Linked DNA regions of Homo sapiens: all the other regions are linked to region 1. The links are contacts of gene promoters, found by promoter capture Hi-C in blood cells and fetal thymus (Javierre and others, 2016). All regions are on one chromosome and are shown on one strand. Each heading gives the region's core, a stretch centred on a gene start or on the middle of the fragment in contact. The rest is flanking DNA. Distances are from core to core; before and after follow the strand shown.

Evidence for each region. Contacts are between HindIII fragments. The CHiCAGO score rates a contact against its expected background, and 5 or more counts as called.
Region 2: a fragment that was not itself captured here is called in contact with the fragment with the promoter of AHR in region 1 in 1 of 17 cell types (activated CD4 T cells); the score reaches 5.1 in activated CD4 T cells.
Region 3: a fragment that was not itself captured here is called in contact with the fragment with the promoter of AHR in region 1 in 1 of 17 cell types (total B cells); the score reaches 6.2 in total B cells.

What each region holds. Positions count from the first base shown.
Region 1 is chr7:17,296,629-17,300,403 of GRCh38, forward strand. AHR (aryl hydrocarbon receptor) reads left to right here and starts at 2,024. Exons shown (of 11, transcript NM_001621.5): 1 at 2,024-2,701. The coding sequence starts at 2,637. LOC101927609 (a long non-coding RNA gene) reads right to left here and starts at 2,692. Exons shown (of 12, transcript XR_007060234.1): 1 at 2,432-2,692. RefSeq lists silencers at 2,299-2,448, 2,499-2,608, 2,649-2,698. The HindIII fragment of the contact is 6,297 bases long and covers 1-3,373 here.
Region 2 is chr7:16,713,471-16,717,245 of GRCh38, forward strand. No RefSeq gene overlaps it. Among named protein-coding and RNA genes, the nearest start is that of TSPAN13, 38 kb to the right of the region's middle. The HindIII fragment of the contact is 964 bases long and covers 1,595-2,558 here.
Region 3 is chr7:16,756,546-16,760,320 of GRCh38, forward strand. All of the region lies in intron 1 of TSPAN13 (tetraspanin 13), which reads left to right. Among named protein-coding and RNA genes, the nearest start is that of TSPAN13, 4.7 kb to the left of the region's middle. RefSeq lists a silencer at 1-93. The HindIII fragment of the contact is 1,883 bases long and covers 897-2,779 here.

The DNA.
Region 1 (3,775 bases), core at 774-3,273:
GTTCATGTCACTATTAAAATAAAATGAATTCTGGGAATTTTGTTGATATTCAATTTTAATCTTAATTATGCAAAGATCTGTTACTTAACTAAGACTATGTAACATAATATAGCATATGACTTCTGGATAATGAAAATAATCCTAAACTTAACCATAAAAAAATAAGGGTATGAAAGTCAAAATAAGGTAGAAAATGACTGCACCAAATAGCCAACAACCTTAAAAAGGGTAGGATTTTTTTAAATCACTAAATTAAGATTGGTTCATTGCATTTAGTACATCTCTTTTATGAAGAGGAGTTATAAGCTACAGAATCAATAAATTATGTTTTGATATAAATTTTTCACCCTTAAAGTTCCTAGCTAGGAGGAAATTATTCTTTTACACTTACACGTTTTAGATAGAATGGCTATAAGTAAGCACAGATAAATGAAGAAATGAAAGAGAAGGGAAAAATAGAGATGGTTGATTCTGCCTCTGCAATTGCTAATTCATAAACATCAAACTTTCCCAGTGTACACTGTCTTCTTTGGGAATTTGCTCCATCTTTTTCCTTAAACTGAAAGGTGGCTTACTGAGGCTATCACTTTCCTAAAGGTCTCCCCAATACTGCCTAATTATTTTCTCTTATCACAGGATACAGGGTGGATGTCCATCTACTTCCTTGTTGTCACTTCCCAGATCACTTTCACTTTATGCTCTTCTAAAATTAAAACAAAGATCATCGACCACAAAACACAATTGTTCTTTTGTAGCTCATGCTAGAATACCCTCTTTGTTACATCTCCTTCATTTTTCTGATCCAAAATTTAGTAGCCTACTATATCTCACCCACTGTCCTTCTTTCCTCCAGCTATGGTAGAGAACTGCTCCTCCAACTTTATGTACATTTGAATCACCTGGGAGTTCCTGTGAACTTCGGGTTCTGATTTAATAAGGACACCCAAAGAGTCTGCATTTCCTGTAACTCTCAAAAGAAGCTGTGGAGTACTCTGAATAGCAAAGCACTGTAAGTGCTGTTTCTGTTAGTATCTAATCTATTAGTCCTAATCTCCCATTTATGCTTTGGCACTCATTCCCTCCTGCTTTCGGTATCTTAATATCTATCATTCCTTCACTCTTCCCTCAGGTTCCCTACATAGTTTATCTCTACCCCCTCTAAGCCGCTCAGTATCGCCCATTAAAGAACTAAACCAAAACTAGAAAACCCTCATTTAACCCTTCACTCCCCCTACATACAATCTGATGTGTCTCTCATCCACAGCTAAACTTGGAAGAAAAATTGCCTGCTTGAGGATGCCATTTTGTTATCTTCAGCTCAATCCTGTACCCACTTCAATGTTATTTGCAGGCCCATTACCCCAACACTGCATTCACGAAAGTCATCAGTGACTACACATTGAGAAAACAAGAATGACATTTTCAGTTCTCAACTAATTTGAATTTCTCAACAGTATTCAATATTGTTAATTACTCCCAATATTTTTCCACATGGTCCTCCATGACACAATACATAATAGTCCCCTTATTATCTATATTCCTGTCTATTGTAAAGACTTCCCCCGCACACCAAAAAAGGTCAAGGAAACTCCTAGCCTTCAAGTCTCAACTCAAATCTGGCCTTCTGAAGCCTTCCCAACTAGGAAAATATACAGTCCCATTGGTTGTCTACCAGTTGTCTACCAGTTAATTGTAATTCTTAGCCACAAGTTAGCTGACCCACCGTCTCTCAAACAGGTGAAGTTAAGCTCAATATTTGGCATATCTTGATATACTTTGTACAGTCTAGCTACAATAAGTTTGCCTATGCACGAAGATGGCTACCGGCGGGGGGGGGCGTCCTTACGTCCTACGTCATCACGTGCCGGGATGAGGGTGGGGCCCTCAAGGAAGACGGAATGGAATCCAGATGGGCGGGGGCAAGCAGGACGGGGCGGGGCTACGCGGGATCTGGGCGGGGCGGGGCCGGTGAGGGGTCGGGGGTGCTCCTGCTATTCAGCCGGTGCGCGCGGCGGCGGGAGGCAGTGGCTGGGGAGTCCCGTCGACGCTCTGTTCCGAGAGCGTGCCCCGGACCGCCAGCTCAGAACAGGGGCAGCCGTGTAGCCGAACGGAAGCTGGGAGCAGCCGGGACTGGTGGCCCGCGCCCGAGCTCCGCAGGCGGGAAGCACCCTGGATTTAGGAAGTCCCGGGAGCAGCGCGGCGGCACCTCCCTCACCCAAGGGGCCGCGGCGACGGTCACGGGGCGCGGCGCCACCGTGAGCGACCCAGGCCAGGATTCTAAATAGACGGCCCAGGCTCCTCCTCCGCCCGGGCCGCCTCACCTGCGGGCATTGCCGCGCCGCCTCCGCCGGTGTAGACGGCACCTGCGCCGCCTTGCTCGCGGGTCTCCGCCCCTCGCCCACCCTCACTGCGCCAGGCCCAGGCAGCTCACCTGTACTGGCGCGGGCTGCGGAAGCCTGCGTGAGCCGAGGCGTTGAGGCGCGGCGCCCACGCCACTGTCCCGAGAGGACGCAGGTGGAGCGGGCGCGGCTTCGCGGAACCCGGCGCCGGCCGCCGCAGTGGTCCCAGCCTACACCGGGTTCCGGGGACCCGGCCGCCAGTGCCCGGGGAGTAGCCGCCGCCGTCGGCTGGGCACCATGAACAGCAGCAGCGCCAACATCACCTACGCCAGTCGCAAGCGGCGGAAGCCGGTGCAGAAAACGTGAGTGTCCCGAGCGCGTCCTCATCGCGGGGGCTGGGCGCTCAGGCACGCGGGTGCGGGAGGCAGCCCCACCCCGCCCCCAAATCCCTGCGATCCTGGGATTAGGTCCATTCCCGGCACTGCCCGTGGAATCGAGGTTTGGAGGCCGGCTGGGAGACAGAGGACTTGGATTCTCCCGTTTTCAATGATTGCATTTTAAAAATTGTCCTCCCACCCATCCTCTTCCCCCGCACCAGTGCATACACACCCTCTCACATTTGCAACTTTGTTCTTTCTGATTTGGTCCTGATTTGTTGACAGCTCTGATCTGCCTTGGGCTAATGGATTAGTTAGTATAAACCTGTCTTGAAATCTCCTTCCACTTTTCATATCCGCATGGGTTAGGTTAGAGGACGGTCTTAATTCTCATTCTTCGTAGAGTTTGGTAAGGCGAGATGTTTTAAAGAGCTAAACACATGCTGACTTTTACGAAGGGGCTGAGTGCCTCTAAAGGTACTTTTTGGTCCCCACCAACTGGCTTTGTGTTGCGCTCATATTTACTTATTTGGCAGCAATTTTGTAGCGCTCATCGTGACCATATCGGTAAAGTGGATAGAAGTGGTAGCAGGTGGGAGTGGATGCAACGGACAGGATACGGTGGAGGATTTGTATTCTTCAGACATCTTTTTCGGAAGCTTGCTTATCACTTTTGGGGTGGCTTTAGGGTCTGTAAAATAAAAGATTTAGAACTGCATTTGAGAGAGGTTTTCATTCTTAACATCTACCTCTAATTCTTTTCCCCTTCAAAGTTTTCTTCTAGTTGAGTGAGTACAAACTTGCTTTTGTCGTTGTCGGTTGATTTTGGTGGAATATTTGTGTGAGATGGCCAATTTTTTGTGTGTGTCAGAAAAAACTATCCGTGCTCAAAACATTTCCTGTTGTGAGGTGGTTGTATTCATGTGTTTATTCCAATTTTTTTATTTCTAGATCTCTGAGTTACTTTACCTACATGTGTTTCAAGTTTTCGTAAACAATTTTAAGAACTCTTAAACGTCTTCTCAGACCAAATCAGAAGTGTGCATTTTGCTTAGACTC
Region 2 (3,775 bases), core at 827-3,326, 580 kb before region 1:
GCGGGCGGATCACAAGGTCAGGATATCGAGACCAGCCTGGCTAACATGATGAAACTCTGTCTCTCTTAAAAATACAAAAAATTAGCCGGGTGTGGTGGCGGTTGCCCGTGGTCCCAGCTACTCGACAGGCTGAGGCAGGAGAATAGTGTGAACCTGGGAGGCAGAGCTTGCAGTGAGCCGAGATTGCGCCACTGCACTCCAGCCTGGGTGACAGAGTAAGACTCCGCCTCAAAAAAAAAAAAAAAAAAAAAAAAAAAAGAAATCCTTTTTAAAGAGTTGATCAAAAATTCATCCTAAATTTTTCCTATACCTTCTTTAACAAGTTCAGCATTGGAGCCACAGCCTGACTGCTACTTCATGAGAATTTGGATTAATGCACTAAACAACGACACATCATTATTGATTGTGTCATTCCCTGGAACAGAGCCAATACACTGTGGGCCCATAATTTATTTATAAAATACTCCTGACACTTTCTCTTATTATTTGTTTTCAAAGGAAGCAAAAAGAACTTTACTGTGAGGATTGTCTAACCAGGCTCTGTAACAATGCCAATTATTCTTTTTTAAAAGTTGTTACAAATTTTTATATATTTAGGGAGTACAAGTGCAGATTTCTTAGGTGCATAGATTGTACAGTGGTGAAGTCTGGGCTTTTAGTGTACTCACTACCCAAATAGCATACATTGTACCCGACAGGCAATTTCTCACCCCTCAGTCCCACCCCTGCCTTTCGTAGTCTCCAGTGTCTATTCTTCTACTCTATGTCCCTGTGTGCCCATTGTTTAGCTCTCACTTGTGAAAGTGAAAACATGTGATATTTGACTTTCTGCTTCTGAGGGTTTTTTCCCATAAAATCCTAAAGTTTTTTTTTACTTTTTAAGTATTTTCAAGTATTTTTATTTTGTATTTTTAAAAATACTTTTCAGCTGGGCACAGTGGCTCACGCCTATAATCCCAGCACTTTGGGAAGCCGAGGTGGGTGGATCCCCTGAGATCAGGAGTTTGAGACCAGCCTGGCCAACATGGTGAAACCCCGTCTCTACTAAAAATACAAAAATTAGCCAGTGTGGTGGCTCACACCTGTGGTCCCAGCTACTTGGGAGGCTGAGGCAGGAGAATAGCCTGAACCCGGAAGGCAGAAGTTGCAGTGAGCCAAGATAGAGCCATTGTACTCCACTCTGGGTGATAGAGCCAGACTCTGTCTCAAAATAAAAAAATAAAATGAAATAAAATAAAACACTTTTAAAGTATTTTAAGAGGCACAGGAGAGTGGGAAATGTCTCAATTCAAATAGTCTTGATTTTTTTATTATTATTATTTTTTAGTCCCCAGGGAAGAAGCAGTCCTTGATGTTTTACAACCAACTAAATCCTTTGAGGAATCTTAGACCTTTTCGTAGCATTATCTTTTCTTTTTAGCAGGAAATCCTCATGGTTTTCTGAGTGTAGTCTCCAGACTGGCAGCATTGATATTCCCTGGGGGCTAGCTGGACATGAAGACTGTCAGGATCCCCCCAAGACATGCAAAATCAGAAACTCTGGGGGTGGACTGAGCAATCTATTTTGACAAGCCCTCCTGGTGATTTGGATGCAAGCTTGGGCTTAGGAACACTGACCTAACCCAAACTTCAGGTGTCAAAACATCTTGGAACACATTCCCAAGGGGACATAAGGGCAAGCAGACAAGAACTGAGGCAGGACCAGGCTTTGGCACAGGATAAGGGATTAGTGAGATGGTAGATTTCATTTTTCCTGAAAGCTGATTAAAACTGGCAAATATCTCTGGAGAAAGATGTCCTGGCATCCTTCAGTGGGTTTTACCTGATGTAAGAGGATAGAAGATGTTAGTGCCCTATAGCCGTATGACAGCTAATCTGAACTCATTCCCAAGTGTGTGGGAACACAGTGAAAAGTATAGTCCTAAAACTGGTCTTTCTTGATTTTTTTATCTTAGTGAGCAATAAAGTGAAAATGTATTTGTTTTTTTTTTCTTTTTTCCAGTGTGCTCACCAACAATTACAACCAAACAACAATTTTTGTTGTAGTACCAAAAAACAACTTTTCTAAATACAAGGAAATCTAAGAGATGACTATTTACAACATATCTAAAACTTTCAGAGAATAGAGAGTAACACAGGTGCTACAGAGTAGGGAAAGATGAATTTTCTGTGTATATGCTTCTAGCAGCCTAGATAGGAGAGTACCAGGCTAACTAGCTTGCAACAAAGGATTTTAAAATTCTGATGCTGAGGATAAAATAGCAGATGAGATATTTGATCATGTATCTTGCTTTGGACCAACCTTAAAGTTTTTTCATGGATTTTAGAAAAACTGTTCACTTTGGCCTCTAGCGTTTTGTTCAAATCACAACCTGTTTCACGTCATAACTTGTACCTGCTAAATGGCTTTGAAATATTTTGAGCAATGACAATGGCCAATGAATTATTTACGAGTGCATTGTATAATTTTCATATATTTGAGTTTTAAAATATGTGGTTTTAATTACTTTCTAGTTTAATTTCATTGTGGTAAGAGAACATAAATGGTAAGATTCCAAAGCTTTTAAATTTATTGAGACTTGTTTTATAGCCCAGCATATGGTCTATCTTGGTGAATATGCCATTTGCACTTGAAAACAATGTGTATTCTACAGTTGTTGGGTGGAGTGTTCTACAAATATGGATGAGGTCTTGGTGGTTGATAGTGTTGTTCAGAAGTTCTGCATCTTTAATGTTTTTGTTTTGTTTTTGTTTGCCTGGTAATTGTATCAGTTACTGAGAAAGGGGTATTAAAATCTCAGATTATGACTGTAAACTGTACATTTCTCTGTTTAATTTGGCCAATTTTGCTTTATATATCTGGAAGCTCTGTTATTAGATGCATACGGATTTATGATTGTTATGTCTTTCTCATGAGTTGTCCAACGAAATGTCCCGCTTTACCTGGTAATAATCTTTGTCTTGTCTACTTTTTAATCCACAGATATCTGATTTTTATAAACAACTTTAACAGTCTTCAGTTTAACTTTCTTTTTTTTTTGAAATGGAGTCTTGCTCTGTCGCCCAGGCTGGAGTGCAGTGACATAAACTCGGCTCACTGCAACCTCTGCTTCCCAGGTTCAAGCAATTCTCCTGCCTCAGCCTCCTGAGTAGCTGGGATTACAGGTGTGCACCACCACGCCAAGCTAATTTTCTATTTTTAGTAGAGAAGGGGTTTTGCCATGTTGGTCAGGCTGGTCTCGAACTCCTGACCTCAGGCGATCCTCCCGCCTCGTCCTCCCAAAGTGCTGGGATTACAGGCGTGAGCCACCGTGCCTGGCCTCTTGTCTACTTTATCTGACATTGGGATGGCCACTCCACCCTTTCAGGCATATTGTTTGCATGACATATCTTTTTCATTCATTTCCATTCAACCTATCTGTGTCATTACATTTAAAGTATGACTCTTCTGCACAGAGCACATTACTAAGTCTTGCATTCTTTTTTTTTTTTTTTTTTTTTTTTTTGAGGCAGAGTCTCACTCTGTTGCCCACGCTGGAGTGCAGTGATGTGATCATGACTAGCTACAGCCTGGACCTTCTGGGCTTAAGTGATCTTTCCACCTCAGTCCTCCAAGTAGCTGGGACTACAGGCGCATCTCACCATGCCTGGCTAATTTGTATATTTTTTGTAGAGACAGGGTCTCCCTAGTTACCCAGGTTGGTCTCAAACTCCTGGACTCAAGCAATCCTGCCTTAGCTTCCCAACGTGCTGAGATTACAGGCGTGATCCACTG
Region 3 (3,775 bases), core at 588-3,087, 540 kb before region 1:
CTCAGAAAGCATGTCACTAAAAACAAGTTGGAAGTCCCAAACAAGGAAATTTGATCACTAGGCAAAATGTTAACAGTTGATTTTTCTTGTTGTTTATGGCTTGATTATTTTAGTTAATAGGATCGCCAGTACTGGACAAGCTTAAATTAGTGTAGTATGTGTTAACAGTTTGTAAATATAGAAGAAAAGGGGGAAGCTACATTCCTGAATTCACCTTCACAGTATTCTAAGAGAATGACTTGCCTCAGAGCTTCCTGCATTTAAAGAAACTTTCAGTTTCTTCATTCAACAATTATTGAGTGCCTACTGTGTGCCAGGCTCTGTTCTCAGTTTGGAAATACAGCAGCAAACCAAACAGGGCGTAAAAATCAATGTGCTTTTATGAAGGCTCTTTTTTATTTACTACCTTTTATACATATGTTTTCAGGAATTGTATTCAGTCAATAAACTTTTGTCTACTGTGTGCACTCTTTTGAGAACTGTGGGAAATAATAAATACCTATAAAGGCAAATGCATTGTGAAGACAGGATCTAGATGAGAGACATGGAATGGGAAAATTAAATGGCGTATAAGGAATATACTGACTTTAGGTACCATAAAATTTAGGACTGTGGCAGATATTTGTGGGTTAGAGAAGTTGGGGGAATAAAGGAGGTGTGATTGAATCAAGGAAATGTAGAAATAGTGTGTGGGTCTTTTTGATACCATTTAGGATATACATAAAAATGAAAATGATTTGGGAAAATGACTTATTTTTAATAGTTTATAGGAATATTTTAGGCTGAAAAGATTTTGACAAGTAGTGAAAAAAACTTTTGAAAATTATGCTTAGTGATTTGTGGGAAATTTTAGAAAATATGAAATAAAATTTGTATTAAAATACGTAATATTTTGAAGCTTTATAATGTGTCTCCTTGTGCTTCTTAACCAGAGAAGAAAGCTCTATTAAAAACAAACAACCAAAAAAAAGGTAGCTGACTTTGTTAAATAGAACCAAACTGAAAAATATGACCAAACATATATTTACTGGGACTTTTTAAGAGTTGCCCTGCCAGTTTTAAAATCAGGAGGGAAATTTCAGAAGTTGCAGTTTTGTTTCTCCTGTGTGTGTTCATTCTTATAACATCTTTCCATGTTTGTTTCTTTCTCTTTTTCGTGATTCTTTTTCCTTATACTTTTGGTTGTTTTGAGAAAAATTCTCATGCAGCATAAAAATTATACTGAATTACTTCATAAACACCTTAATTTATATTTTTATCACCTCTGAAGTTGGGATGCATTTTATTGTTTCTATTTGTATTTTTGAGATGGAGTTTCACTCTCGTTGCCCAGGCTGGAGTGCAATGGCGCGATCTTGGCTCACTGCAACCTCCGCCTCCTGGGTTCAAGCGATTCTCCTGCCTCAGCCTCCTGAGTAGTTGGGATTACAGGTGCCCGCCACCATGTCCAGCTTATTTTTTGTATTTTTAGTAGAGACGGGGTTTCGCCGTGTTGGCCAGGCTGGTCTTGAACTCCTGACCTCAGGCGATCCACCCGCCTCGGTCTCCCAAAGTGCTGGGATTACAAGCATGAGCACTTTATCTACTATAAAATGCTCCCGGCCTGGGATGCATTTTATAGTAGATAAAGTGTGCCATATCTGTTAGATAAAAAAATACGACCATACAATTTATGGGAAGAAAATTCTGTTTTTAATCTGTTAGATAAAAAACATATGTCCATACAAATTATGGGAAGAAAGATCACTGGATTTATGAAGAAAACTGAAACTTTTCCAACTCTGTTACTAGACAAACAGCTTACTTTGAGTTTCAGTTTCTTCATATATAAATTGGTGATGATATTTTTCAGTCGTCCCCTCATGAAGCTGTGTAAGGATAAAATCAGATAGTATATAAATGCTTTAGATGTATAATAGAAATAAAATTAAGTTGTTACAGCTTCAGGTGGAAAAAGTTGAATTTTGCTGAATTTATAGACTTGGCTTCTTCTTTCCAGCTATTCTTCACAGGTAAAACTTGCATAAAGAAAACTCGTATAAAACAATATTTTGTTACTTTTAGTCTGCAATGATCAAGGTTAAGTGCAGAAGCACAGCTAAATATTTTAAAGCATGAAAGTTGGCATTAGGTTAAAAAGTAGTAATATTAAGTAGGAATTACTTTTATTTATCCACTGTAGAATCGAATATTTCTTGTAATACCCTTTTTTTTTTTTACATAATTGGCCAACCTTTCAAACGTGTCTGTGGGTTTCCTCTACCGTTTCTCTTGAATGAATCTACTTCCTGTAAAATTGTATTATAATTGTAACTGTTTGGGGTTATTTGTGAGTCTAATGTAAGTTTGAGATGTGCCCAAGTTATTTTCTGTTTTTTATTCTAATAATGAATATTAATTGAGCATCAATAGCAGTGAACAAAATCCCAATGGCTTGCCTTCATGGAGTTTATATTTATGGGGGTGGACAGATGATAAATAAGTAAGTAAATTATATATCGTATTAGAAGGTAAACAAGTTTTATGGAGAAAAATAAAGCGGAGTAAAAGGAAAGATAGGTGGGGCAGTGGAGCGGATGTGGGAGGATGGGTACACAGCTTCACATATGGTGGTCATGCTTGGCCTGCATGGAAAGAAAACAGTGTACGAAAGGTGTTAGACTGTTCTTGCATTGCTATAAAGAAATACCTGAGACTGGATAAAGAAAAGAGGTTTAATTGGCTCATGGTTCTGCAGGAAGCATAGTGCTGGCATCTACTTCTGGTGAGGGCCCCAGGAAGCTTACAATCATGGCAGAAGGGGAAAGGAAGTCCCTGTGTCACATGGGGAGAGTGAGGGGGAGGTGCCAAACGCTTTTAAACAACCAGATCTCACGTGAACTCAGAGGGAGAACTCACTTATCACTGAGGGGATGGTGCCAAACCATTCATGGGGGATCCACCCCTACGAATCACCTCCCTCCAGGCCCCACCTCCAACATTGGGGATTACATTTCAACATGAGATTTGGAGGAGGCAAATATCCAAACTGTATCAAAAGGCCTAAAGGAGATGAAGAACAGTTATCTAAGAAAAGTGTTTCAGGTAGAGGGAATCGTCTTTGAAAAGACCCTGATGAAAGAGTATTTCTGCTTTTTTTTCTTTTCTTTCTTTCTTTTTTTTTTTTTTTTTGATATAGGGTATTGCTCTGTCACGCAGTGGCGTGATCTCAGCTCACTGCCAGAGAGCTGTCTCCTGGGCTCAAGTGATCCTCCCACATCAGCCTACCTAGTAGCTGGGACTACAGGCATGTACCACCATACCCAGCTAATTTTAAAAAATATTTTGTAGAGACGGGGTCTGTGTTGTCTGGGCTAGCCTTGAATACCTGGCCTCAAGCAGTCCTCCCACCTTGGCCTCCCAAATTGCTTGGATTACAGGTGTGAGCAACTGTGCCTGGCCAGGAGGAGTATTGCTGGTTTATGCAAGGGACAGATGAGTCAAATATGAGTGGGACAGAGCAAGCAAGCAGTACAATGCAGGAAATGAGGTCAGAGAAGTCAGGGGTGGACCCAGGAGAGCACTATAGGGCCATGAGCTTTTATACCAAGTGAAATGGGGAGCCAATGGTGTGTTTAGGTTTGAGGACTGATATAGTCTGATTTTTATGTAAAAGGCTATATGGCTTTTGAGTTAAGAATATATTATAGATGGCACAGGTGGGAGCATTGAGACTAGTTACAAGGCTATTGCTATAATTTGCACATGAGATGATGGAGGCTTGGATTAGTATGGT